7 separate regions of the Homo sapiens genome follow, and regions 1, 2, 3, 4, 6 and 7 are each linked to region 5. Evidence: promoter capture Hi-C in 16 types of primary human blood cells and fetal thymus (Javierre and others, 2016). All regions are on one chromosome and are shown on one strand. Each heading gives the region's core, a stretch centred on a gene start or on the middle of the fragment in contact. The rest is flanking DNA. Distances are from core to core; before and after follow the strand shown. Region 1 overlaps RYK (receptor like tyrosine kinase). Region 2 holds the start of MRPL3 (mitochondrial ribosomal protein L3). Region 3 overlaps ASTE1 (asteroid structure-specific endonuclease 1). Region 4 overlaps PIK3R4 (phosphoinositide-3-kinase regulatory subunit 4). Region 5 holds the start of NPHP3-AS1 (NPHP3 antisense RNA 1). Region 6 overlaps ATP2C1 (ATPase secretory pathway Ca2+ transporting 1). Region 7 overlaps RYK (receptor like tyrosine kinase).

What was found. Contacts are between HindIII fragments. The CHiCAGO score rates a contact against its expected background, and 5 or more counts as called.
Region 1: a contact is called between a fragment that was not itself captured here and the fragment with the promoter of NPHP3-AS1 in region 5, in 4 of 17 cell types (naive B cells, total B cells, activated CD4 T cells and 1 more). The highest score is 7.6, in naive B cells.
Region 2: a contact is called between the fragment with the promoter of MRPL3 here and the fragment with the promoter of NPHP3-AS1 in region 5, in 4 of 17 cell types (naive CD4 T cells, activated CD4 T cells, naive CD8 T cells and 1 more). The highest score is 8.7, in naive CD4 T cells.
Region 3: a fragment that was not itself captured here is called in contact with the fragment with the promoter of NPHP3-AS1 in region 5 in 1 of 17 cell types (activated CD4 T cells); the score reaches 6.8 in activated CD4 T cells.
Region 4: a fragment that was not itself captured here is called in contact with the fragment with the promoter of NPHP3-AS1 in region 5 in 1 of 17 cell types (naive CD8 T cells); the score reaches 5.4 in naive CD8 T cells.
Region 6: a contact is called between a fragment that was not itself captured here and the fragment with the promoter of NPHP3-AS1 in region 5, in 1 of 17 cell types (neutrophils). The highest score is 5.8, in neutrophils.
Region 7: a contact is called between a fragment that was not itself captured here and the fragment with the promoter of NPHP3-AS1 in region 5, in 1 of 17 cell types (naive B cells). The highest score is 5.2, in naive B cells.

Annotation. Positions count from the first base shown.
Region 1 is chr3:134,212,215-134,216,572 of GRCh38, reverse strand. The region is part of intron 2 of RYK (receptor like tyrosine kinase); the gene reads left to right. Among named protein-coding and RNA genes, the nearest start is that of RYK, 36 kb to the left of the region's middle. The HindIII fragment of the contact is 5,038 bases long and covers 1-3,939 here.
Region 2 is chr3:131,501,721-131,505,837 of GRCh38, reverse strand. It overlaps MRPL3 (mitochondrial ribosomal protein L3), which reads left to right and starts at 2,867. Exons shown (of 10, transcript NM_007208.4): 1 at 2,867-3,108. The coding sequence starts at 3,017. LOC105374114 (a long non-coding RNA gene) reads right to left here and starts at 3,239. Exons shown (of 3, transcript NR_189111.1): 1 at 3,134-3,239. RefSeq lists enhancers at 2,969-3,038, 2,545-3,231. The HindIII fragment of the contact is 1,488 bases long and covers 2,080-3,567 here.
Region 3 is chr3:131,017,586-131,021,387 of GRCh38, reverse strand. It overlaps ASTE1 (asteroid structure-specific endonuclease 1), which reads left to right. Exons shown (of 6, transcript NM_014065.4): 4 at 2,672-2,882. Among named protein-coding and RNA genes, the nearest start is that of ASTE1, 7.3 kb to the left of the region's middle. RefSeq lists a silencer at 1,048-1,157. The HindIII fragment of the contact is 4,299 bases long and covers 1-3,802 here.
Region 4 is chr3:130,739,447-130,743,778 of GRCh38, reverse strand. The region is part of intron 2 of PIK3R4 (phosphoinositide-3-kinase regulatory subunit 4); the gene reads left to right. Among named protein-coding and RNA genes, the nearest start is that of PIK3R4, 5.2 kb to the left of the region's middle. The HindIII fragment of the contact is 580 bases long and covers 1,432-2,011 here.
Region 5 is chr3:132,720,300-132,722,999 of GRCh38, reverse strand. It overlaps NPHP3-AS1 (NPHP3 antisense RNA 1), which reads right to left and starts at 1,250. Exons shown (of 11, transcript NR_002811.2): 1 at 621-1,250. NPHP3 (nephrocystin 3) reads left to right here and starts at 591. Exons shown (of 27, transcript NM_153240.5): 1 at 591-1,037. The coding sequence starts at 645. It overlaps NPHP3-ACAD11 (NPHP3-ACAD11 readthrough (NMD candidate)), which reads left to right and starts at 541. Exons shown (of 45, transcript NR_037804.1): 1 at 541-1,037. RefSeq lists silencers at 75-584, 685-934. The HindIII fragment of the contact is 4,122 bases long and covers 1-2,700 here.
Region 6 is chr3:130,897,889-130,901,862 of GRCh38, reverse strand. All of the region lies in intron 2 of ATP2C1 (ATPase secretory pathway Ca2+ transporting 1), which reads right to left. Among named protein-coding and RNA genes, the nearest start is that of ATP2C1, 5.8 kb to the right of the region's middle. RefSeq lists an enhancer at 629-678. The HindIII fragment of the contact is 2,345 bases long and covers 1,473-3,817 here.
Region 7 is chr3:134,242,012-134,246,353 of GRCh38, reverse strand. All of the region lies in intron 1 of RYK (receptor like tyrosine kinase), which reads left to right. Among named protein-coding and RNA genes, the nearest start is that of RYK, 6.7 kb to the left of the region's middle. The HindIII fragment of the contact is 415 bases long and covers 1,709-2,123 here.

The DNA of each region.
Region 1 (4,358 bases), core at 171-2,670, 1.5 Mb before region 5:
GATCCACCCGCCTCAGCCTCCCAAAGTGCTGGCATTACAGGCATGAGCCACCGCGCCTGGCCGTCAGTAGCTATTTTAGATATCTGAAAAGCGAAAATTTGCCAGAATGTAGCAGAATATTCCCACTACCCACCCTTACCCCATGGCTGTTCTGTGCTTTCAGGAATTCGTCATCATTTTCTAGGAGTTGCAGGGAACTTGTCCAGAGTTCCAGCAGGCACTGCTGGAGGCCAGCAGCTGTGTCCTTTGCAGAGTGAGGTTTCTATGAGAAAGGCATTACTTCTAGTAAGTTCAGAGAAATTAAAAGGCTATTTGGCTGTAGACAAGTGTATTCACTTTAAATCTGTACTCTCTGTGTTCCAGAAGGAAATGGCTTTACTTACCAGCTTCCTATTTGTAATTGCCATTTGTTTCCAAGTAAGGGAACATAAGCAAAAATGTTTATTTTTCAGTTTATTCAAATGTTGATATTTTTGGTAATTTGTTTCTTTTTTTTTCCTTTCCTTTTATTTTCTTTTTCTTTTTCTTTTTTTTTTTGAGACTGAGTCTCACTCTGTCACCCACACTGGCGTGCAGTGGTGCGATCTTGGCTCACTACATCCTCCGCCCCCCAGGTTCAAGTGATTCTCCTGCCTTAGCCTCCGAGTAGCCGAGTAGCATGTGCCCACCACCATGCCCACCTAATTTTTGTATTTTTAGTAGAGACGGGGTTTTACCGTGTTGGCCAGGCTGGTCTTGAACTCCTGGCCTCAAGTGATCCACCTGCATTGACCTCCCAGAATGCTGGGATTACAGGTGTGAGCCACCACGCCTAGCCTGTAGTTTCTTTTCTGAAGTATTTTGGCTCACTCTACATTCTGATAAACAACTGCTGTTCAAATTTCTTTGTCCCAGTAGACTGTACATTTAACTTTTGAGCAGATCTGTTTCTTTAAAGGATGATTGGCAAGTGAGAGTCCTTACAGATCGATACATGCCAAACTAGAGAAAATTGGACTTCAATAATTGGCAATTTCTTCTCTAATCCCAGAAACTGCAGTTTTAAAATTTATATCTTAAAGACTGCAGAGGGAAAAGAGAACTACCTTGTGAATGCCTCCCATTTTTAGACAGTTCCTCAAAAAAGGAGCCAGCAAGGAGGCTTCCACAGTTTCATGCTTCATATTCCTCTAAGCTGCTGATAGGACCAAAGGGGCTGCCTTCTCAAATCTCCTCCTCAGCCCTTTGCACCTCTCCCTGTGCCCTCATTGGCCAGCTACACTCACAGCCTCATTTCCTTCCCTTCTCTCCTCCTTTTCACCTTGCCACACTGAGATGCTCAGGCGCCAGTCTTAGCTGCTTTTTTAACTGCAGTTATGGCCCTGGACCCCTTTGCCAGGCCCTCTCTGCTTACTTTGGGGTTCTGGTCTCTGGTCTGCTCCTTCTCTCCTTGTGATAACTGAGACCTAGAATAAAGGAGACAGCAAGTTTCTGGGGAAATAGTAAGTGTGGCTTTGAATTTGTTAAGTTGGAAGGCTGTAGGATAATTAGATAGAATTGCCTAGTAGGTAATTGGACACTTGAGAGGGATTGAAGGTAAAAGAGAGTGAGAGAAATTGACGATTAAGATATCCCATCAGTGGTGAAATGGGCTAGAACCCTAGTGTACTAGGATTGAAGGATTTACATTTGGAGAGGAAAATGGACCTTTCCTTGGGACTAGAATGAAAAGAATAGATGCTCTAATAGATCTGCCGGGGTGTTGAAAAGAAAGGCAGAAATGGGGTTCCTCTGTACTAGTGGAAAGGGACAAAAACATTGAGTGTGAGGAGGTGGGGAAGGCCTGTAAGGTTGGAATAAGACGAGGGAAAAGAGGGTCAGTGAGGAAGGGATTGCTGAGTAGAACTAAGGGCCTCCCCTGAGACTGGAGGTCATTGTTGTGTAAGAGCTCCTTTTCTGTAGGATGGATTTCCTTCAGCAGTGCTGAGCAGCAGGAGTAGAGTAAGAAGGGGTGGTCAGGATGCTAGAGCTGCCCTTTGAGGGTTTGGAAGGAGTCAACCAGCTGAAGGTGCCAATATGACTGTCAGTAATGTTGCCTTCTTTAGGGCTTGGGCTGTGGAGAACATGAAACTAGGTGTTCACGGCTATACTGGAGAGAAGGGAAGTGGCTTTAACTGGCTGCTGCATCCTGCTATGAACACAGCACCTGGCTCATAAATGTGCCTCATAAATGTTGGCTGACTTGGAGTGATGGAATCAGAGAACTAGTTTTGTAGGAATCAGAGGTGGTGATGGGATCTTTGATAGAATGGCATTTTTGCATTTGTTTTGGTAGTGAAGTAATTCTTTAGCGTGTCAGGATATTGAATACTGAATATTGAAGCCAGGGAGAACATGGCAGGAGACCAAGGCCTCTGCAAGTCCTGTGTGGCTTATTGGTGTTGATGGCATGAGAAGTAGCCATTATGAGTAGAAGCTGTGAGCTTCGGCCGGGCGCGGTGGCTCACACCTGTAATCTCAGCAATGTGGGAGGCCAAGACAGGTGGATCACTTGGGGCCAGGAGTTCGAGACCATCCTGGCCAACATGGTGAAATCTCGTCTCTACTAAAAATACAAAAATTAGCTGGGCATAGTGGCGTGTGCCTGTAGTCCCACCAGCTACTCGGGAGGCTGAGGCAGGAGAATCGCTTGAACCCAGGAGGTGGAGGTTGCAGCGAGCCGATATCACGCCACTGCACTCCAGCCTGGGTGACAGAGTGAGACTCGGTCTCAAAAAAAGAAGTTATAAACTTCAAAGTAGAGGGGATTTGCATGAGGGCATGAGGAAGGGATGTCTGGGAAGGACCTAGTGATCCTAAAGAGTGCCGACCCTACTGTCTAGGCCCTGAGGGTCAGGTGTTGTAGGAACTGAATGATAGGAAGGGGAACAGATGACTTCTGAGGAAAGCCAGGTTGTGGGAGAAGGTGGGAAGACATTTGTGAAGAGGCAGAGAGTGTAGGAGGCTGTTCTGAATAGGGAGGTTCTCAGAATGGGGAAAAAACAGAAGGCCTGCAACAGTGTTCTTGACAGACCCAGGAGGGTTTGTGTCAGAATCCCTGGGGCCAGCAGTGGGCTGATGATTATGGAGAAGTGCAGCATGGCAATAAGGTAGCTGTTCTGGAATGACTGCTGATGCTGCTGATGTCAGAGGAGACTTGTGCCAGGCTAACAGTATGTATTGCATTAATGATCTTATTTGATCCTCATAACATGTATTACCCTTATTTTACAAAATATGGAAACTCAGAGAAGTTACAAATTTACCTAAGAGTCACATGGTCTCATGGTTCCAAACCCAGTTCTTGCTGGCGGTGCTGATTTCTTTTGTGCACCTACCCTTCATGTATGGTCCTGTTCAGAGATAGCATCGGTGTAGGGATGTATAATGCATTCTTTGATGTATTGCTGGAGAGCTTGCTCATTCCCTGCCCAAACTTGCTTGGCTGTGGCTCTCTAGCACCCCCTGGTGGCAGCAATGGTATTGTGATATGCTAAGGTGAATGTGAACACTTCCTAGCCAAGGTACCTCGAAGTCACTGATGTGCTGCAGCAAGAACATTTCCTTTGTTGGGAATGTGGCACTTATCAAACACAGCCTTTAACAGTTGTTTACGTACCTATCTTAACTGCAAAGGAAGAGTTTAATGTTTGCATACCCCTACAGTGTTTAGCTAAGACACTTTAAATAGAGTGTGAAAGGAGAAACCCCAAGGGGAATCAAATTCTGGACTGAGCCCTTCTTATTCATGGGTAACAACGCCTTCCACCTTAGCCCAAGCGTAAGGGCCATCCCTTCCCTTATATCTGGGATGATACTCTTTCCCTCTTTTCTTTCATCTTTATTATGTACCATTTCGTTAGCTTTTTTCACTAGCATATATACATATTTGAATATCTCATCTAAAAACAAAGAAAAGCTTTGGAACACCCCCCACTTCACCATCTGTCTCCCATTCTTCTAGTTAAGTTTCTTGAAGAATGGTTTATCGAACATCTTTCTTCTCACTCTTTTCCCAACCTGCTGCCTCGTGGCTCTGCAAATCTCAGTCTGCCACCAATGATACCTTTTGTGACCACTGAATGAGAGAGGGATACCATAGTTATCAAGAACCTGTGGGCAGGGCAGAGAGTGATGTGAACTGTAGGGCTTCATTGAAAGTCTTGATGCTGGCAGCCATTCTGAATTTCAGCTATTGCTTTGCAGTTTGAGCTGCTTCTTTCATGAACTCTCCATAGCAACAGAGCCTTAATTATTGATGCTGATTGGTTCTGTTAAGCCACATTGGGTAGGCCAAGTATTGATAGATAACATTGGTGTTTTAGAGACATCTCATGGGT
Region 2 (4,117 bases), core at 1,618-4,117, 1.2 Mb after region 5:
TTTATTTAATAAGAGAAGGTTTATGAGATCATCTGTTGGTCTGAATTAGCGGAGTAAGAGTTATAGAACTGTACCACTAAAAAGAGAAAGTGCAAGTTATCTTCGTTCCAATAAGGAATTGAAATCTTAGAGAGGCAAAATGGCATTACAGTTTCAGGGTCTAAGGCAGTGTCTGAAGGATGACATCAGAAATAACAGGAAGCTCTAGGTCAGTGCCTGACTGCCCTAGAAAAGCCTAGGCTGGGTCCCTTGACAACTGGGCCTAGTAGCTGTCAGCAGCATATTACAGTGACTAAATCAAGTATGACACCACTCAGCCCTGGCTGGCAATCAGGAGACACATTTTTTACGACAGCAGACAAACCATGTTTTACTTTGATTCAGTTCAGCGGTGGTGCCTGCTGTCAAGGTCCTCCTTATGGACTAGGAGATATTTGGTACTATGGGAAAAGGTTAGACCAAATGGCTACCTCTTCAATCCTCACTGACCACTGCGTGTGATTACTTACCGATTTTCCTCTTTAGCCTTAAAGAAATTCCAAGGCAAGAGTAGTGACATATTTGTCATAGAGAGCCAAAGAAACAAAATGTCTAAAAGCATAAGCTCTATCTATGGTCACAGTCTTTGGCTCTACCAGTTAATAGCTGGGTGATTTTATTTAAGTTATGTAATCTCTGTATGCCTATTTTCTTAACTGTAAGATCCAGATAATTATACTATTGTCACAGCAGATTGTCATAACAATCAAGTGAGAAAATACACTGAGAGAGTAAAAATGAATACTATTAGTAACTGGACTGCAGTGTTTATAGCAGAACATCAATACAATATTTCTTTTTTTTTTTTTTGAGACGGAGTCTTGCTCTGTCACCCAGGCTGGAGTGCAGTGGCTCAATCTCGCTCACTGCAAGCTGCGCCTCCCAGGTTCACACCATTCTCCTGCCTCAGCCTCCTGAGTAGCTGGGACTACAGGCACCCGCCACTACGCCCGGCTAATTTTTTTTTGTATTTTTAGTAGAGAAGGGGTTTCACCATGTCAGCCAGGATGGTCTCAATCTCCTGACCTCGTGATCCACCCGCCTTGGCATCCCAAAGTGCTGAGCCACCACGCCCAGCCCATCATTACAATATTTCTTACAGACCGTACTGTAGGCCACACCACTGCAGCAAAATGACTAACAGTTCCTTATTCTGAGTGATTCCTGCTTTCTTATGAACATCATGCCCACTTCCTCTCTGTTCTTCCTGTCTCTAGAACAAAGACTATCAAGATATCCAATTGCTGAACTGTCCTTTCTTCTTGACAGCACCCATTCTAAAACAAGTTCCTGCTTCTCTGATGCCACTTTAAAATCACTCAGCCTTAAGTCCAAATTTCATTTCAAGCCCCTCCCAGGTCACTCTTTTGGAAACATCCTCAGACATATGCTGTCTTTTGCTGCATCAAGCTAATTAAACTTGACTTTGTATGAGTTCACGTTTTCTTCTAGTAGCCTTGGCTTATGGGCTTCCACAATGCTGAGCACATACTCTAGCACACTATATGGATAAGAAATGTTAGTTATTGGCAGTAGTACAGAAATCTTCTTATTCTCAACTTCTTGCATGTAGCACACCTCAAAACATGTTTGTTCAATGAAGAGCCATCCTTAAGTATCTGGGAAGCCAGGCAGCATGGCTAGAATGAAGAGATGTAGTTTTTCCTTCAAGGTCCAAAGTATTATTGAAAAGTGTCTAAGGTAACTGCAACAGCAATGAGTGGAATGAATGGACAAGCAAAGCAAAGATTTTTTAGCCCACTAAAGTCCAAGTAATGGCCAGGAATTGACCATTGTCTGGACCTGTTAAACCAAGATAGCCAGATCTCTAGTAAAAAGAGAAGGTTGAAATAGCTACACTTTAAAGTTCTTATTTCCAAATTTCTACAAACAGTAATCTGACAAATAAGGGAATTAGTAGAAGAATAAATGTCCTAGTCACATACATGGTTATTAGGCTAGATCTGGAACCCAAGACAGGGGATTTTTTGTGCAGGTGTATTAGCTATCTATTATTGCATAACAAATTACCCTAAAGCTTAATGACTCAAAAAAACGGTAATCATTTATTTTCTCTGGCAATTTCTCCTAGTCAGTAATTCATGAGCGGCCTGGCTGGGAGATTCAGGCTTAACGTCTCCATGAGTTGCAGCCGAGGACTGGTGGATCCACTTCCTAGGTGGCTCAGTCATGACTGGCTAGTTGATTCCTCTTTATATGTTCCTCCCTGCAGAGCTGTTTGAGTGTCTGCAGGAAATGAAGGCTAGCTTTCTCCACAGGGAGCAATCCAAGAGACAAAAACTGAAGTAACAATATGTTTTATGATCCAGCCCTAGAAGGCATACATCATTTCTATGGGTGTAGTCTATTGATAACACATGCCAACCCTGTTTCAGTGCCAACTCTGCTCCTCTGCCAGATGTGTTGTTTTGGACCAGCACCTAAATTCTGAGTCAGTTTCCTCATTTATAATAGAAAAATAAATACTTCCTTTCAGGACCGTTTTTTATGATTAACAAATATAGGATTATGAAGCGCTGCTTAGCATAATGCATTGCCTCACAACGGGCACTATTTAGAAGTGTCTTCATTTTCCTTAGCGTCCTCAGGAAGTCTGTCCTTATTCTTCTAAAGTTTAAACTCTGAACATCCCTTTTATTTTACCCCTGGAGAGGCGAGTCAGTCCCTTCCCACCCCTACCTACTCCAACTCACATCCAAAGTAGGACAACGGTGGAAGCAGAACTATAGTTTCCGGGGAGCGACTCGAGTGCCCGGAGTTCATTGTAAAACGCACCGGAAGTGGGTCCGGCGGCTTTCTTTCCGTCGCAGAGAGCATCGGCCGGCGACCGTTCCGGCGGCCATTGCGAAAACTTCCCCACGGCTACTGCGTCCACGTGGCGGTGGCGTGGGGACTCCCTGAAAGCAGAGCGGCAGGGCGCCCGGAAGTCGTGAGTCGAGTCTTCCCGGGCTAATCCATGCCGGGTTGGAGGCTGCTGACGCAGGTCGGCGCCCAGGTGCTGGGTCGACTCGGGGACGGCCTGGGTGCTGCCCTGGGCCCGGGGAACAGGTAGGAAGGTGTGAGGGTGTCCTACCTGCACAGTTGCGTCCTGAAGCAGTGGAATGGCCTGGTGCAGTTGGGCCTCCCCTGGGTGGAGGAGGAAGGGGCTCTGTTGAGACGTGGGACACAGAAGAATAAGGGCCGTTAACCTAAGGAAGCACGTTCTAAGGGGATTGAAGTGGTGATTTTTAAAAAACGCTTATGAGCCAGCCACTAGCAGCGAACGCTATTAACAGCAATCATATCTTACAATTAGTGAGCGTTTGCCAGGTACTAAGCGCTCTGCTAAGTGTATTAGGTGCCTTATGTAGCCTCACGGGAGCAAACTGCTATCATAAGGTTTACAGATAAAACTGAAGGTTAGGGAGGTGAGTTAATTTGCCCAAAGTCACTCAACTAATAAGTGGAAAATTAGGAATCTAGCCTGAATTTATCTGACTACAAAAGGAGAGTAGACTGCAGAAAGCTTTACTTCTGTTCTGACCCTCCATGCAAGAATTACACCCCTTCTTCCTGACCTCCGCCCACTAAGGTCTTTCTTGGTATGTTCACCTGTTCAGAGGTCATGCCTTTTGTGGATCTTTTAACTTTGCACACCCAGTTTCTTCACTTCTCTGAACCTAGGCCATGTCATTGCAGGGAGGAGGTGAGCTTGTTAGACAAAGATCAACATGCCACCTTCTGCCACCTCCACTGAATGTAAAACTATTAAGGTACACTTCCAAATGGGTTAGTGGCTTTTCATGTCTATAGGTAGGACTGTTTTTTGGGGAATATGTTTATCTGCGAGGAGAAGATGAATTTTTTTCTCCAGGGTAACGACTAACAGTTTAAATGTGAGCCTTATCCGAAGGAATGTGGGGAGTGAGGAAAAGGTTGGAGACCTGAAAAAAAGGTATACAGAATCCAAGCCCTTTCCCAAGGCCCTGACTACACTTTCCAATTTGTGACTTCCCTTTTCTATATTAAGTGGAGGAAGTTTTTAAATTGTGGTTTGGTTTTATTTATTTTTTCTTTT
Region 3 (3,802 bases), core at 724-3,223, 1.7 Mb after region 5:
GCTGTAACATTTTTCTATTTTGGTATATTACCATTATACACTTAAGAACATTTTTTTTCATTACACAGCTTATGAGCATTTGGGTTCTTTCCAATCTTCCATTTCCATGTGTTCATTAGCCATGTGATACTCTATTATATGAAGTTTCTGTACAGTTTTTTGCTCATTTTTATCATATACGGGTCCTTTGTCAAATAACATATTGTGAATAGTCTCTCCCATTGTTTATTCACTCTTTAGTATGTTTTGATGAACAGAAGTTCTTAATATACTCTAATTTAAATTTTTATTATTTATGGTTACCACTTTTGTGAACTGCTTAGGAAACTGCCTACTCCACGGTCATGAAAATGTTTTTTTGCTGTTCACATTTAGATCTATAATGTATCTAGAATTGGTTTTTTGTGGGTGCGTATGGTGTGAAATAGGGATCAGGATACCTTTTCCCCCCACATGGAAATCCAACTGAATCCATGAGTATAGCAGGCTGCTTATATTCCTTGCTAAGTAGAGATGACTTAAGTGTTCTCATCATTTACCTGGATTCAAAATAGAGTGAAATTTTAGTTCATTCTCTGCGCTCTGCTATCACCCAGCTTTCTCTTGGCATAAACTTATCAATTCTGAATTTAGCTCAGTGCTAATGGTTCTAATTAGCCCCTGAAAATTATAAATGTACCAGGTGCTCATGTGATTCCAAACACAAATGCAAGTACAAGTATAGAAACCTTGTGATAGTACCTATTCATTTTGTTTTTTAGATCTTGTAATACATTATCTGCTTTGGCCAGCTGTTGTTAATAAAAACTTTATAGTCTCTCATTTAATTCCCACAATAACCACATGGGATAGGGTTTCATTTTGGTTATGTTAGTTGCAATGGACAGAGCACCATTCAAGTTAACCAATGGGAGGTTAATCATAAGGAGACACAAAAGTGGATCATTCTTAAGGAGTAAGGCAGCCAAGACCAGTCTCTCTCTGGGCATCTCTGCCTCTCGGGGCAGCTGCTTCTGCAGGCTTGTGCTTTCGCTCCCCCTGGGGAAGAGGGAAAGTAGTTGTCACATGGGATAAAACCTAACTAACGTTAAGGGCTGTGAGTTGAGTACTTCCCCTTTTGGAAGGGACTGTGGACTGGTGGGTTTGATGAAACATCTTATACAAGTCATTATAATGACCATTTTACAGATAAGTCAGACAGACTGTAGAAAAGGTCAGAAACCTTTCGACCAAAGCCATAGGGTTAGTGCAGAGCGGAACATCTCTGAAGTCAAAGCCCAGACTGCTTTGTTTATGAAAAGTTGTAACTTGGCTCTATAATTCAGTAATTTAAATATATATCAGAAAAGAGTTGGTGTATTTTCTTAGCTCTACTTAGTGCATTTTAAAAACCAGTTTAAGAGTTTAGTTTCCACTTTACTTAAAATTTAAGTAGTTAAAACTACTTCCAGTAGGGGTAATTGGTTATACTATAAAGTTCTTTGCATATTTCTAATTTTAAAATTTGTATCACAATATTATTAAAAGCAGTATTTAGAAATAATCGTACTATTTAAAGTTTTCATGCATTAATGATAAAACTATTTTGTCATTTATGATGTGTTTTGTTTCAGGTTAATATCTTTAGTCTCAGCTGTCAACCACTCTTTCTACTAACTAGATGTTACATGCTGAGAAATGTTATTACCATCTCAACTTTCCAGAAAGCAGAAAATCTTTTTCTGGCTGTGTGCAGACACTAGGAATACAACTTTTCTTTTTCTTAAAGTTTGATTATAAAGTCCCCCAGAAGATGACCTTTTAATATTCCTGAGTGCATGACCTGTAAGGTCCCCATTCTGGTTCTTACAAGGTCTTGGTAATTCATTAAGGTAAAATTATTTCAACAAGAACCTCAGTGCTCTTATAGCTGTTTTACTTCTGAGCTTTTATTTGAAGTACACGCTAAACCATGAAGTAAAAGTATGGCGTGTTACTCCAAGCACAATGCAAGTAGTCCTTAAAATATTCCTATCTCCCTTGAATATACCTCTAATCTACAAGCAGCCACCCTGGGACAATCCCTGTGTGTCTTTTATGCAAAGACAATAAAGCATTCAACAGGGAAGGGACATGAGACAGGACCCAAACAAATAGAGTATATGCCACATAGGGTTCCTAAAAGCAACGTTTGTCTTCTGGAGGCAATTAGTAATGGCATCATGCTGAAGGCAAATGCCTGTTGCACAGGCACATACAGGTGGTGTTGAGTATACAGCTTTGTTTCTCAAAGTAGAATACTTGGGCTGCTAGTTAAAATGTATATTCCTCCTGGGCTCTCTCTCAGATTAGTCAATCAAAATTTATGGAGTAGGGCCTAAGGATTGAATTTTTAATGAGCTTCCCAGGTGACGTGCACTGAAGATGCTCACCAGCGTATACAAAGAGGATGGAATGACATAAGTAAAGGTGTAGGAGTAGGCAGTACACCCATTCAACCAACCATATTTATAAAGCATCTTATTAATGTTCTAAATGCTGTGAGTGTGGCTGATTTTTTTTCCCACAAGAAGATAAGTTTAACAGCTGACAGAAGTTTCAGTAGCATTAAATCTCTTCATGCTATGGTGGAAAAAAGAAATAACAGACATTTCCCAAAGTAACTTGCAGGATACTTGGTGTGTATTTTCAGCTCTCCTTGAGGAGGCGGCAGATGCTTCTGTTAGAAACCCTGAAGGTGAAACAGACCATTCTGGAGCCAATCCCTACTTCACTGAAGTTGCCCATTGCTGTCAGTTGCTACTGGTTGCAGCACACCGAGACCAAAGCAAAGCTACATCATCTACAATCCTTACTGCTCACAATGCTAGTGGGGCCCTTGATTGCCATAATCAACAGCCCTGGTAGGTAACTGGAAATTACAGGAGTATATTGTGGCATGTTGCTTGCAAACTGTTTACTCGAGTTTACACAAACAAAAAAGTATTCTTGGATTATTTACTCCCATTAATTGTATCACAACTTAGATGTGGAGGCACCAAAATATCATTCATTCATTGGTAAATATTTTTTAACACTTCATGTGCCAGGCTCAGTGCTGGAGGGCTTGAATCTTAAGTATACAGCAGTGAGATGTGTTGGGGTACTGCCAACTTCCATCTGTTTGGTGGCACCTACTCCTTTAACTTGTGAATTGTGACAGTGTATTTTGCCAGCTGCATTTTGTATTCCATGTTACCTATCCAGTTATTAGCACAGCAGCAACGTCATCACAAGAAACTTGCCCAGAAGTGAAACTTATCTAAATACCTACAACCACTACATTCTTGCTTATACATCTTTTTATTCCTTTTTCTCTGCTGTAGGTTTCAATTAGTATGTAAGTAGTGATGGCAGAAATAGTAATTTGTCCTTTTTTTTTTTTTTTTTTTTTTTTTTTGAGATGGAGTCTCACTCTGTTGCCTAGGCTGGAGTGCAGTGGTGCAATCTTGGCTCACTGCAGCCTCTGCCACCTGGGTTCCAGTGATTCTTCTGCCTCAGCCTTCCGAGTAGCTGGGATTACAGGTGCCTGTCACCGCGCCCAGCTAATTTTTGTATTTTTAGTAGAGACGGGTTTTCACCATCTTGGCCAGGCTGGTCTTGAACTCCTGACCTTGTGATCCACCCGCCTCAGCCTCCCAAAGTGCTGGGATTACAAGCATGAGCCACCGCGCCCGGCCAGTAATATCTCTTAAATACACTGAGGCAAGTTCATCTGCATATAATACCAGGTGAAGTAAATGCTGAAACACTGGGACACTTTAATACTTCAGTGGAATATCCT
Region 4 (4,332 bases), core at 472-2,971, 2.0 Mb after region 5:
AAACAAGTTAGGAGAAAACTGCCACAGTCCAGGTAAGATGATTGTGACCGGCTTAAGATTGTGGCAGAGTTGGAAGGAGTGGAGAGAAGTGGTAATGCTTAAGAGATAATTAGTAGATAGAATTGTTAGGATTCTGTCATTGGAAGGTGAAGTCACAGGAACTTCTCTCGCCCACCAAACTGAGTGGATGGTGATGCTGGTCCCTGAGACAGGGAGACACAGGAGGAGCAACAGGTTAGGTTGGGAAGATGATGAGGTCTGTTTAAGATATGGTAAGTTTGAGATTTCTGCCAAGTATGCAGGAGAAGATGTACAACATGTATTTGGTTATATTTTTATTTATTTTTAATTTATTATTATTTTTTAGAGGTAGGATCTCACATTGTTGCCTAGGTTGGTGCCCAGTGGTGCAATTGTAGCTCACTTCAGCCTCCAACTCCAATGATCCTCTTGCCTCAGCTTTCTTTGTGTAGCCGGGACTGCAGGCGTGCACCACCACACCCAGTTGACTTTTTTTTTTTTTAACATTTTTGGTAGAGACTATTTTACTGTGTTGCCCAGAATGTTCCTGAACGCCTGAGCTCAAGCTGTCATCCCACCTCAAGTTTCCAAAGTATTGGGATTACAGGCATGAACTACCACACCTAACCCAGCAGTTGGTTATAAATTTTTGGGCATAGAAATCTGGGATAGAGATGGAGATTTGGGAGTTATCAGGAAATAGGTAGTAATTGTAGCCAGGGAAAGGTTGTACAGAAGTGATTCTGAAGCTTTTTTGGATACCCTTAAAAAATTTAATGAAATCAGTGGACTCCTTCCCCAGAAAAATGTACCATGCATTCATTCCTATATATTATTTCACATACACAGACCACATGAAGCTGAGCTATGGATTCCAGATTATTTAAGAATTTGTGGGATAGAGAGGAAGAAGTGTGTTGAGAGTGGTACTCTGATAGACTTCAAAAGAAATCTGGCATCGGTGCCATTTTTGGTAAATTTTGTGATGGTTTGGCTTAATTTTTTTCTTGCTTGTAGGTTTATTACAAAAAACATAAATTGAGCCAAATTTTAGATTATTTAGGAAAATTAATTGATGAATGAATGTATTTCATCTACCAGAATGAATAATGTTATTCAGGATTGCACCTATGTTGGTCTATTCAGCTCACTAATCTGTGTCCCAAGATAATACTGAGAGATGTTTTGATAAGATAGGGTTAGCCTCAAGGTTGTAAATACAGTATAACAAGGTTAGAAATGTAATCCATCAAAGTTCCAGTTTTGTTGATCAGTGTATTAAAATTTTCTTGAACCATTTTTACATTTTAAACTCACTAATTGTTATGTAATCCTTTAGCTTAGGAATTGCGTCACTTTCAAACTTCAGGGGATCATTCATAGGTTTAAAATTTCAGTGGTTGATAAGCTTATTTTTATCCTTTTTTTGTGCATTATAGTTTTGTAAACTTCAACAAAATTCACACTCAGCATTTATTTTTCCAGACCAAAGAGCCTTACATTGTTTTGGCTGAAGGTAGGCCCTTCCGTTCCTTTGAAAAAGAGGTGGGTGGCATCTGTCCACTTCCCAGTGCTCTTAAGATTTGAATGTTTGGGTTTTGAGTGCTACTTTCCCCTCTTGATGGATATCCATGGTTCCAGGCTGCTGGTTTGGGAGAAGTGTTCAGCGAGTCCTGACGTCCTTGATAGGCTCTTGGAAACTGCTACTTTAAGTGAAACAGTGTAAAGCAGGTCCATCAAATAATGTCGTTTTCATTATAATGAAATGGTGAGAAAATAAATGGTTTTGTTGTACGTTGTTGTACTTAAAGTTGCAGTTTCCAAGAACCCATCGATACCGTTGAGGACTTACCATATATATTCTGCCTCTGGTCCAGTACATAGGCATAGCCTTGTGTGCTGCAGATCTTTCATTCATTTTGACATGCATTTGAGCATATTATGTGCAAGCCATTGTTACGTAGGTGCCAGGAATACAGTTGACTAAGCTTTTGCCATTATGGAGCTTTCATTCTAGTGGGGAGAGAGATAGAATAAACAAGTAAATAAGAAAGTTAATTTTGGTTAGTGATGTGTTATAGCCAAGCAGAATGATATTGAAAAGGCTGGTAGGGCACTACTTTAAGATAAAATGGTCAGGGAAGGCCTCTCTGATGAAGGTAACATTTGAGCTGAGATTTGAATGATACAGACTCAGTGATGATAGTGACGATTTAAACAAGTTGTTCCACAGGGAAATACCACCCAATAACATCTTTCAGAATAAAATCGTAAAAGTTTTGAGAAAATAAATATGAATTCACTGCTGCATTAGTTTGTTAGGGATGCCATAACAAAATACCATAGAGATGGTGGCTGAAACAAGATTTATTTTCTCTCAGTTCTGGGGGCTGGAAGTCCAAGATCAAGCTAACAGGGTTGGTTTCTTCTGAGACCTCTTTCCTTGGCTTGCAGATAGCCATCTTCTGGCTGTGTCCTCATGGGTTTTTCTCTGTGAATGAGCATACATGGTGTCCTTTCTTATAAGCACGCCAGTCATATTGGATTAAGGGCACACCCTTATTACCTCTTTAACCCTAATTAACTCCTTAAAGGCTCTGCCTACAAATACACTTAGATTCTAAGGTATGGAGATTAAACATATGAACTTGCAGGAGGGGAGGCAGGGGGCACTTGACACACAATTCAGTCAATAAAACCTCCATTTAGTTATAAATAGTCATATGTCACTGTGTTTTTTTCTGACTTTATTTGGAAATACTGTAATTTCAAACTTGAAAGCCTTAAAAACTTACAGACTTTTAAACTTGCAAAAATAAAAATAGAACAAAGGAACACCCATATACACTTTACCCAGATTCACCTATTGTTAACATTTTGCCCTGGTTGCTGTATCATTGGTATCGTTTTCTTCTTCCTCACGCCCCATTTTTTCCCTAACCTTATGAAATAAGTTACATATATTATGGCCCTTTACCCTGAAACATTTCAGTGTGTATTTTTTACTTTTTATTTATTTTTATTTTTTGAGACAGAGTCTTGCTCTGTCACCCAGGCTGGAGTGCAGTGGCGCGATCTTGGCTCATTGCAACTTCCACCTCCTGGGTATCATGCTGCTGCCTCCTGAGTAGCTGGGATTGCAGGCATGTGCCACCATGCCTGGCTAATTTTTTTGTATTTTTAGTAGAGACAGGGTTTCTCCATGTTGGCCAGGCTGGTCTTAAACTTCTGGCCTCAAGTGATCCGCGCCCCCTTGGCCTCCCTGAGTGCTGGGATTACAGGTATGAGCCACTGTGCCCGGCCTTCAGTGTTTTCTAAGATGAGGTATAGTCTGTTACAAAACACAATATAGTTAATGGCTGCAGTAATTTTAACATTGATACAGTAATTACACTTTTTATTCTAATTTTGTATTTGACCCAATAATGTCTCTTATAGCATTTTGCCTGTTTCAGGACAGGACCTTGTTTAGGGTTCAGGTATTACATTTAGTTGTCATATCTCTTTAGCCTCCTTTAATATTTCTACAGCCTTTTTTTCTTTTGTTATTATCACATTGCCATTTTTTGAAGAATGCCTCCCCCCACTTAATTTTTCAAAATCATTTTTATACATTTTAGTTTGAAATTATTGTAGAATCAAAGGAAGTTGCAAGAATAGTGATGTATCCTTCACCCAGCTTCCCCCAATGATGACCTTTTATGACTGTTGTACCATATCAGAATCAGGAGTTGCCATAGGTGCATTACTGTTAACTAGAGTATAGCCCTTACTCAGTTTTCACCAGCTTTTACATGCATTCTCTATGTCACCCACTCCTTTGTTTTTTGATAGGATGTTTCTCATTTTGAGTTTGTCTAATGTTTCCTCATGATAAGATTTATGTTATAACTTAGTAGGAATACTGCATAGATGGTGATGGATTTTCACAGGGTCACATCTGTAAACAAATGATGGTTGTTTGTGATGTTAATTTTAATCATCTGGTCAAAGTCTTCCCAAATTGTCTCCCCTCTATAGTTTTTTATTTTTTTTCAATCCCTTGCAACTAATAACCTGTGGGAAGAGTTTTAAGATGTGCAAATATGCTTGGTGTGGTGGCTCAAACTTGTAATCCCAGCACTTTGGGAGGCTGAGGTGGGCAGATTCTTGAGCCTGGGAGTTCAAGACCAGCCTGGACAATATGGTGAAACCCTGTCTCTACAAAAAATGTAAAAAATTAGTTGGGCGTGGTGGTGTACACCTGTAGTCCCAGCTACCCGGGAAGCTGAGATGGGAGGATCACCTGAGCCCAGGAGGTCCAGGCTACAG
Region 5 (2,700 bases), core at 1-2,500:
GGTCCACTGCTGGTCCTGCACAGTCGCCACTCCCCCCATCCTTCCTGCTAGCCCCGCCCTTCTTGCTAGCCCGCCTGGCCCTGTGTGCTTTCTCGACCCACCCCCGTTTGCCCTGCCCCGCCCACATGCCCCGCCCCACTTGCCCGGCCCCTCTTGTTGTCCCGCCTAGCCCTGCTGCCCCGCCCCGTCCCCCTCGCCCATCCCCCCAGTTCCGCTGCCCCGTCCCGTTCCGCTGCCCCGCCCCTCCAGTTGCCCCACCCCCTTCCGCTCTCCCTCCCCGCCCCGTTCCGCTGCCTCGCCTCGTCCGGCTCTCCGGCCCCGCCCCGCCCCGTTCCGCTGCCCCGCCCCGTCCTGCTCCCCCGCCCCGTCCTGCACCCCCGCCCCGCCCAGTTCTGCTGCCCCGCCCCTCCTGTTTCCCCGCCCCATCCCGCTCCCCCGCCTCGCCCCGTTCCGCTGCTCCGCCCCGTCCCGCTGCTCCGCCCAGTCCTGCTCTCCGGCCCCGCTCCATCCCGCTGGCCCGCCCCGTCCCGTTCCGTTCCTCTGCCCCGCCCCGTCCCGTTCCGTTCCTCTGCCCCACCCCGTCCCGTTCCGTTCCGCTGCCCAGTCCTGCTGGTACTCACTAGGTAGTAGCGGCAACGGACGCCATGGGGACCGCCTCGTCGCTCGTGAGCCCCGCGGGCGGGGAAGTGATCGAGGACACGTACGGGGCGGGCGGCGGCGAGGCCTGCGAGATCCCGGTGGAGGTGAAGCCCAAGGCCCGCCTGCTGCGCAACTCGTTCCGCCGAGGCGCGGGGGCGGCAGCAGGGGCCGGGCCCGGGTCGCTGCCCCGCGGGGTGGGCGCGGGCGGGCTGCTGGGGGCCAGCTTCAAGTCCACTGGCTCGTCGGTGCCAGAGCTGGAGTACGCGGCGGCCGAGTACGAGCGGCTCAGGAAGGAGTACGAGATCTTTCGCGTCAGCAAGAACCAGGAGTTGTTGTCCATGGGCCGCCGCGAGGCCAAGCTGGACACGGAGAACAAGCGGCTGCGGGCCGAACTGCAGGTAACGCCGGGCTGGGCCGCGACGCCGGGAGACCCTTGGGAAGCACGGCCGTCCTGCTCCCTCTCCAAACCAAGCGGCTTTGAAAGTTCGGCGGAAACTGCCCATTTTAATTTGAGAGGCCATATTCTCTTCGAGTCTGAAATGATTCCTTAACCCTCCCCTTTTTCTGTCTCTTTTTTTGGAGACAGGGTCTCGCTGCGGTGGCACGATCGCGGCTCACTGCAACCTGGAACTCCTGGGCTCAATGATCCTCCCGCCTCGGCCTCCTAAAGTTCTGGGATTACAGGAGTGAGCCACCGCGCCTGGTCCCCGCTTTTCTATTTCTGGTTTATTCATTGAGGCACCTAGAAGAAATTAGCCGGAAAGTGTCCTGAGGAGGCAAATGCCAATCTCCAGCTCCACTGCCGCCCCCGCGCCCACCCCCTCAGAAGGCTGGTGACATCTGTTGAAGCAACTCAGCAAACTCTTCCTAGGAGTTTCACCCCCCTCCCCACCATAAAAATTTTAAGTGGGTCTCCAAAGTGGGGCTCAAGTGTCGGTTTCTTTGTAAAGTTTCATCGCTCTTGCATTTTAATGGTCTTGACATGAAAATTTCTGGAAGCCTCCTGATCTCACCATGGTTGAAAACCTTCTCTAGATGTAGTCAAATTTCCCTAGTCCATTTGATTAATTTACGCTAAAAGCAATTATTGCATGCCCTCCATGTAGCAGGTCCATTATAATTCAATAAAATAGTATGTAAAGCAGCCGGGCGTGGTGGCTCACGCCTGTAATCCCAACACTTTTCGAGGCCTAGGCGGACGGATCACCTGAGGTCAGGAGTTCGAGATCAGCCTGGCCAACATGGTGAAACCCCGTCTCTACTAAAAATACAAAAATTAGCCGGGCATGGTGGCACGCGCCTGTAATCCCAGCTACTCAGGAGGCTGAGGCAAGAGAATTGCTTGAACCCGGGAGGCGGAGGTTGCAGTGAGCCGAGATTGCACCATTGCACTCCAGCTTGGGTGACAGAGCGAGACTCCGTATCAAAAAAAAAAAAATAGTATAAAGCAAGAGGTTGCTTTTCTGTGAACGAATCTCTAAAACTTTTTGCCCTCAGTTTGGGGCCCCTCTGGTCGTTGTTGTGTCGTTTGTGTACTCTTTACTGTGGGAGAGACTTATAGGCAGCCTAAGAGTTCCCGGAGTCGTTACAGTCGGGGTGAAATAAATACCTCAGACTGATTTTTCTAAAAGAAAAAAAGCCTCCTGTCTTCAAGACTAGACATTCTTCTAGTCAGGTTTTGTTGTTGTTGTTGTTGTTGTTTTTGTTTTTAAACTCCCTCATTAGCTGTTGTGTAATTATTGTCGTTGTCTGGGAAGAAGTCCGTGTAGCAGTTTATCTGTTGTCTTATCAGTTTTCCTACTGGGCAACCTTAATGCACTTGCATGTATAAAATGGACTAGTGCATTTCAAATATCTGATTCAATGTATCCAAGCCACTGCCCAACAGACACCGCACGTTGGAAACAACTGTGAGGTGGGGGTAGAAAAGGCCAAACCAAACAGGGCGGAGTGCAATAAGGGTTGGCAAGTGTCACAGTCACTCATGTCACCAATCCTGATTCCCTGTGAAACATACTGGTTCCTTTCTCACATATCGAGGCATGAAAAAACTTATCCATA
Region 6 (3,974 bases), core at 1,396-3,895, 1.8 Mb after region 5:
GCAAAACAATCCTGAGATGAGAACCACTTAGAAGGAAGAAGCCAGCATTTTCATTCAATTGACAGTAGGTACGTCCCAGAGTCTGTTCAAGATGAATAAAGGACAAATTGAGGTCTCTGCCTTCAAGAGCTCACTTTGAATCCTGGTGCTTGATTTAACACCTCTCTCCATGCATAGCTATATGAGCCTCACATCATGACAGTCTGACCTATATATTCCCTTCAGCCAGCCCCTAAATCGGCTCACTCCTTCAACCACAATCAATGGCACCTTCACTGACCCAAATGACATCTTGCAGTCATGTCTGATTCAACTATTCCCTTAATTCTCTGTATCTAGTCACTGTCCAAGTCCTGCTGATTTTTCCTAGGAGTAAAATATCTCTGTCATCCATCCCTACCCTTCATTCCCATTACTCTAATATAGATACAAACCACACTCCCTTTATCTTCTAACAGATGAAATCAGGAGTAACTAATCTCTCTTGGCCCCTCATATGAATTAGGGGTACATATCAAGATATAATAACTGATCTACCAACTTTTAGGATAGAGGGCTGGCAGACTTCAGAGCAGTCCCCAATGACCACATCTTTCTCTGGGGTGGGGAGGGATGCTGGAATTTCTCATCTGATACTAGTTTCATAAGCCAAATATTAACTCTTAAGTAAACAGTAACCCTCACAAGCATTAAGAAAAGGACACAGCAGAAATTAGTTTGCATACCACTACAAAGTGGTTTGCATGCTATTTCTGGCATTTGTGCCATGAACTGCTTTTGCCTGCTTCAAAAGAAGGTAGAACTGACACTCAACAGAGCAAGTAAGGTACAACTCCCAAGCTTAATTAAGCCAACTAATATTTCCACCCCTGATGATGTAGAAACCTAGATGAAGGCAGGTAAAGCAAACATGCTGCTAGGGAAACACTAAAAATAGATGGCCAAACAAAATCTAGTGAAATGCCTGCATACAAAGAGAGATATAAATCTCATATATAACATATACAAATAAAATCACAGCATCAAAAGGCTAATTTATTTATACTACAAATGAAAAAGGCTCCGATTTAAGATGAGAGGAAATCCAGGACCTGGTTCAAAGTTGGATCTTGCCCTTAGGCAGAGAATAACAGAACGTTTATGTACTAATGTACTAATGCTCTATTCTTTTTAACTTCAGGACACCATAACCAAGATAAATTTCTGAAATTCACAACTTAACCAAAACTTTTAATTTTTACTTTGCGTGTTTAAATTTTCAAAAAAACACATTTACATATTCAAAAAAAAAGTCTGATGAGTGACATCCTAAATATTTCCACTTATTATTTCTGAGTTTTCCTATAAAAGGCTGATGGCAAATATATTTATTATTTAGGGTCCTGCTTTTTCCAACTTTATCAAGCTGTTTTAAGTAAGTAAATAAATAAATGAAAGTAATTTCTATAAGGATGCATCAATATCTCAAAGCTTTCTAAAAGAATAAAGAATGTCATACTAAAGCTGGGCACGGTGGCTCATGCCTATAATTCCAACAATTTGGGAGGCCAAGGCAATAAGACTGCTTGAGTCCAGGAGTTCAAGACCAGCATGGGCAATATATCAAGACCTCGTCTTTAAAAAAATTAAGAAATTAGCTGGGTATAGTGATGTGTGCTTATAATCCCAGCTACTCAGGAGGCTAAGGCAGGGAGATCGCATTAGTCCAGGAGTTAGGGGCTTTGGTGAGCTATAATGATGCTACTGTGTCCCAGCCCAGCCTGGGTTACAGAGTGAGACTCCATCTCAAAAAAATAAATAAATAAATAAGCACAAAGGGAAAAAAAAGGATGTCATACTAAATTAACGTATTTCCTTCTGAGGGAGGGACACGAGTTTAGGTCAGCATGTTTACGAAATGACCAAATGTCAAACCAAAAGGCCTTTACTTAAGAAAGCAATTACAACTAACAGGTATATTAAATAATTCCAATTCACACATTCTCTAATACCTATAGCAGAATTAAAAAAAGCAGAGATAGAAATTGAATCAGACACCCAGTTACGGCCATCTTAAGATAATGCTTCTGACCCCGACTATTACTGTCTTCTGTCTATAATCTAGGACAGCTTTTCAACATTTCATTCAAACTTTTTCTAAACACATCACAGGTTTAGTCTAAACCAACCTAATTTAACACAATTGGTGTAATTTATTTGTAATTCTACGATTTATACTTTTGTCGTAGCAACTTAAAGCCTGAAGACAGAAGATACACAGTTGACTCTTTAACAACATGAGTTTCAACTGTAAAGGTCTACTTATACTCAGATTTGCTTCTGTCACCCGAGACAGCAAGACCAACCCCTCCTTTTCTTCAGCCTACTCAAAGCGAAGACAATGAGGATGAAGACCTTTATAGTGATCCACTTCTGCTTAATGAATTATAAATATATTTTCTCCTCCTCATAATTTTCTTGGTAAGTTTTTTTCTCTACTTTATTGCAAGAATACAGTATATAATACATATAGCATACAAAGTATGTGTTAATTGACTGTTTATGTTATCAGTGAGGCTTCCAGGCAACAGTAGAGACTATTAGTAGTTTAGTTTTCAGAGAGTTAAAAGTTACATGCAGATTTTCAACTGCATGGTGGGTCAGCACCCCAACCCCCACATTGTTCAAGGGTCAACTGTATTAACAAATGCATATAAGTAGCAGTCATATACATCCAAGAGGAAATTATCAATTTAGCCTTTTTTTTGAGAGATCCTTTCTTTCATGAAATGATGGCATTAACCTCAGGATGCACCCTTTACTGCCTTTTACCAACATTTGTCTACATGAAAAGCATAAAGATAACCTTGTCACAACTGATGCCTGAAACCATTATTAAAAAGAATTTGTTTCAACAAAGTAAATGTGAGGGGACCTCTTGAACTGATCCTTAAGATATTTTAAGATGCTACATGTAACAACGGTGTAATTTAAAATTCATGCTAACTTTACCATCAAGCCACAGTGTTCCTGGCACCTTTAAAACAAAATTTAACCTTGCAAAACAGATCATGGCTAACTAAGATCTCCAAAATCAGTCCTGGGCCCCTAGGGGTGTGTTCCCTAGGAAACTATTTTGTTTCATAATGCTTTGCGTTAACAGACCTGAATTCTGCTGACTTTAAATGAATGACAAAAATATGAAGACAAATCAAGTATTTGGAATCCAACTGTCAGAAGGTTATTGCATACAAGTACTCTCTACAGCATCCTCTGGCTTAAATTACTACAGTTTACAAAATGTCATATATATAATCTCTTTTAGTTTCAACTCTTTTTCAGAGTACTAATTAAGACTATCATTTTATGGACAAAACTGCAAACAACATAAACTATATTTCCCACACCCAAAGATATATTTTTATAACCTGGTTTCCTATTTTCAGTTAAAGGAATAAAATTAAGGTGGCTTCTCATCCCTTTTTCCCTATAGCTTCTCCAACTATAGTAATGCAATTTTTTCTTGAGACATTCCTAGCTGATTAACAATTTGAAATTGAATTAAGAAACTGCTTTTAAAAGTAAAGTGTAAATACAACCATTTTCAAACAAAAAAGATTGGGGCATTGTTCTCTACACCTATTAGCTCTGTCTATAATCTTAAATTAACCATGTCCTGAAATCCTGAAGACTATTACATTTCTATCCACTAGTCAAACATTTAAGGCTATATTAAAGTTTCATGTGTATTAAAGTCACACTGAATTTTCTATGGGAAAGGCCAAATTTATTCCAAAAAATAAATCCATTACTAGAAAGGAAAACCTATGTGCAAGCTTCTCCAGCTAGACATATCTTTTCTAGTAAGCTATCACTTTAAACATGCAATTAACTTTTAAAAATCAGGTAAGAGCTGTTTACTTGTGCATCTCAAGATGCCTAAGCGGGATCTGTTTAGATTTGTGATAAACATGTAAAAACAAATTCCAAAGGAT
Region 7 (4,342 bases), core at 667-3,166, 1.5 Mb before region 5:
CTCTCTCTCTGTGTGTGTGTGTGTGTGTGTGTGTGTGTGTGTGTGTGTGTATTTCTTTCTGAGATGTCTGTTGGTTTGGTTGTTGAACCCACTACAAATGATCTTTAAATTTTCTTAACTAATCTCATGTCTTACGTATTTCTTTGTACTGGAAGGAGTGGGAGGGGGGGAATGGTTCTCAATTTTAATGATCATGTTTTTAAATTTTAGAATCTTTTTCTGTTTCCATTTCATTGCATCTTATTTTATGGATGTATTATCTTTACTTATCTCTGATGTGTGTATTTTTATTTTTTCTTTGTGTTTAATATATTTTTAATATTTCTTCTGTTTCCTCCAGTGTGGTTATTCATTTCAGGGATCTTTTCTTTGTTTGTTTAAGTCATAAATATCTGGTGATCCTTGACTGTCTATAATGAAGAAAAAGATCCTGAGGAGCTGATTGCAGAGGAGAGAACATGTGTGTATTGGTGGTCTAGTGACTTGTGAGTTCAGGTGGACTTTTCATTGGGAGTCTGCCCCGAATATCAACACCTTTACATCTCGTTTGGGGCCAGTGTTCACAATGAAGAAATCATCATCTCCTGCCTCTGGTATGCTTGGTGATATGCCAGCTGCCAGGGTTTGGGTTACCTGGCTGAGGGAGGGATGGAGGCTGTAGCCTTCGACTTCTGGCTACAGTTCTCCTGTCACTGTGATTCAGTTTCTTCAGAAAAAACTTTGGGTTTCCTGCTGGAACTGGGGATCCAAAAGCTTTGAACACCTCTTTCGGTGGCTCCCCCCTTGTCTAGGCTAAGCCTCACATCAGCCTTTGGCATCTCCTTGGTGCCTCAAGACCTGAGCCTCTTGGAGGTCCTGAGGGGCAGTGACCATTCCTTCAAGTACTTTGCCATCTTGCAAAAGTTTGTTTAAAAAAGCATGTTGTCTTTCCTTTTCTGTTTGTCCTTATGGTTTGATGTCTTTGTGATTTTTTTTTTTTAAACTATCATTTTAGAGGAATTTTGGAAGGAAATGGAGGTAAGGGATTATGGTCATTCCACAATGTGTAAATGGCAGTTAGGGTTTGGGTTTAACTATTGAAGATGACGTGTGGCAGTCTTTTTATATGAACAATATTACGAGTAGTTAATGGTGGTTGTAGTAGTAGTTGACACTTTTAAAAGTGCTGTCTTTTGTCTGTGTGGGGCATAGAGGTCATCCCTGTGTTATGTACTGTCATTTCCATTTTATAGATGAGTGTTAGTCTGCTCAGGCTGCTGTAACAAAGTACCATAAATTGGGTGGATTGTAAACAACAGAGATTTATTTCTCACAGTTTTGGAGGCTGGGAAGTCCAGGATCAAGGCTTTGGTAGATTTGATATCTGCTGAGAGCCCTCTTCCTGGTTTATGGATACTGCTTTCTCCCTGTGTTCTCACATGGTGGAAGGGGCAAACGAGCTCCCCTGGGTCTTTTTATAAGGGCTCTAATCCCATTCATGAGGACTGCTCTTATGAGCTAATCACCTCCCAAAGGGCCCTACCTGCTAATACCATCCCTTAGTGGTTAGGATTTCAACATAGAAATTTTGGGGTGACACAGAGAAATGAGAAAACAATAATCTTAGAGTAGGTATGTATTAATGACTAGCCTGGTTTTTTGGTAGTAGTAGGGCACACGGTCCTGATGGAAGTGTATAAGTTCTGAAACACCGAAAGCTTCAGAAGCTTTTAAACTCTGGTTGGCCTTCCTGTGTTCCTGGGCCCTGGTTCATCGCTTGCATTTACAAGCCTGTTACTTGCATAACAGGCTGCAATGTAGGCATTCATTTCTGCATTTTACTGATGAGGACCCTGATTCAGGGCCTTTTGGACAGTGAGTAGAAGGCCAGGTCTTGACTCAGTCCTGCCTGAGACCTGAATTCATACTGTCTCTTTATCAGCTCTGGAGGAGTGCAATTAACCAAAAACTCAAAGAGTAGAACCGCAAGCCTCCTGCCACAGGTGCTTGTTTGTGGTCTTTATTATTATGCTAATTATTCTTGCATCCTCCCATGTTCTTTAATTGATAATTTTCATTGTACTGAGCTCTGTGGAATTCCGGAGCCTGTGAAGGTGGCATATGGCTGGGCAGTGCCAGAAGCTTGGGAAGAACATGCTGGTGGGTGGGTGGGGAATGGTATAAACTGGTTATGCCAACAGTGGTGGTGGTGATAGGGGTCAGGGGGACTTTTGGGAAGAGGCCCCATCTCCCACCAGTTAGAAATTAACTTTGGATAACTTGCTTCTCCTCTTAAAATAAATATCTTCTGGAAAAGTCAAGAATGTTCACATTTTATTTAAAATCAAGTCAATACTAGTTGAAATCACTGTGTCCCAAATCAGTCCAGAAAATTTTTTTGAAGCTAAACCAAGTACCATATATTGTGGTAGAAAATGACAATTCAAAATTATTACACTCCTTTCCCTGAAGATCTCAGAATTTTGTAGGGGAGACTTGCATTTATGACTGTAACAGAGATAAGAGTTATATTGCTGGTTGACATAAGTTATTGTAGGAGCACTTACTTTTGACTGTGGAAAGGGCGGAGGGGAGACAGGCTTAGAGAGTTTAGGAAACTTGTCCCAGGGAAAAAAAAGACATTTGAGCCTCATCTTGAAGGATGAATTTGATAGGCAGAAAAGAGCAGTTCATACCAGGCTGAGAAAGTAGTGTGAACAAAGACATAGAGGGTGGAAGCAGCTGTGTGAAATTGTGGGGTAGGAAAAATCTAATGTGGCTGAGGTGAAAAATTAGCAAAGCCATGGAGCGCCACAGGATAAAGCTGGAAGGTAGGCTGAGGTTAGAGTAGGAATTTGAACTCTTACAGGTGAATTCTTCAGTGAGCTGCTAAAGAATGCAGACTAGGAGAGTGCGCAGTCAGGTCTGGGTTATAGGGAAGATAACTTTGGCCCCAGTGAAAAGGATGGCTTTGGAGAATGAAATGCTGGATCTGGGAAATGAGATAGAGCCAACCTTGTGATGATAAGAGGGATCAACTAAGGCAGTTGAAGGGGTGGGATGGATTTGTGAGGAATTTGGTGAGTTTGGAGAAGACTTAGTAGAAGAGACTTTAGGGCTAAAGAAAGGGGAGGAGTCACAGAGGAATCTAGGGTTTCAGATTTGGGCAACTGAACCAAAGGACCCTTTCCTTTTGGGAGAAGTGGTTGGTCAAGGGAAAGAAAAAGGAGATGAACCATGTATTCCTCTCCTCCCAGCACCCCTCTCTCCTAAATCTCAGAGCCCATGCTTGGTGGGGAGGAGGGGTGGAGGGTTGAAGGTGTCCTCTGCCCATGAGTCTGGCATAACCTGCCAGAGGGCCCAGATCCTGGGTGGGTTTTTGGGAGGTTAGCACTCTGCAGCAAATCCTTAACCCTAGGCGTTTTGGTGGAGTTGGTATTTATTTGAATCCATGTGTTCTTCATTGGGAGACAGGCAGAGACATTGTGCAATTGTGGGTTTGAGGGTTGTTTTTTTTCCTCATGCTACACATGTGAGAGAACTCTATCCAATTATGGCTAAACCTGTCCCCTGTGAGTCACATCCTGAGTTGACTGGTCAATTCCAAAGGTGCTGCCTAAAATGCTGTTTGGATTTTAAGAATCACTTTTGGGACAAATCAAACATGTGAGTATTTATTCAGGCACCTGAGTTGAGAAGTTCCATAGCATTACTTTTGGTGTTTTGATGCAGTTACGCCAATGTTCTGAAAAATCTTGCCAGCTACACATCCTAAAGCAAAACAAAAACTTGTACATGAAACAGAACCATTAGCTACTCTAAAATTATGTCACACTTAAAGGTATACATTTTTGTGCGTTGTTGATGTAAATCAAGTGCAATATTTTCTAATAAAAATTTTATTAAACAGCATTCATTTGTGAAGGTCCTCTTAAAATGTGCCAAAATAAACGTGTGTGTATTGCTCAGTTACATAATAAACAGTTGTTGAATGATTCTTTTTGTGTGTTCAGCAGTGATAATGCTGAGTGGATTTCATAGGTCTCATTCTTATCTTTTTTTTTTTTTTGAGACGGAGTTTTGCTCTTGTCACCCAGGCTGGAGTGTAATGGCATGATCTCGGCTCACTGCAACCTCTGCCTCCTGGGTTCAAGCAATTCTCCTGCCTCAGCCTCCTGAGTAGCTGGGATCACAGGCGTCCACCACCATTCCCAGCTAATTTTTGTATTTTTGGTAGAGATGGGATTTCAGCATGTTGGCCAGTCCAATCTTGAACTCCTGACCTCAGGTGATCCACCCACCTTGGCCTCCTTTCAAAGTGCTGGGATTACAGGCGTGAGCCACCTTGCCCGGCCTCATTCTC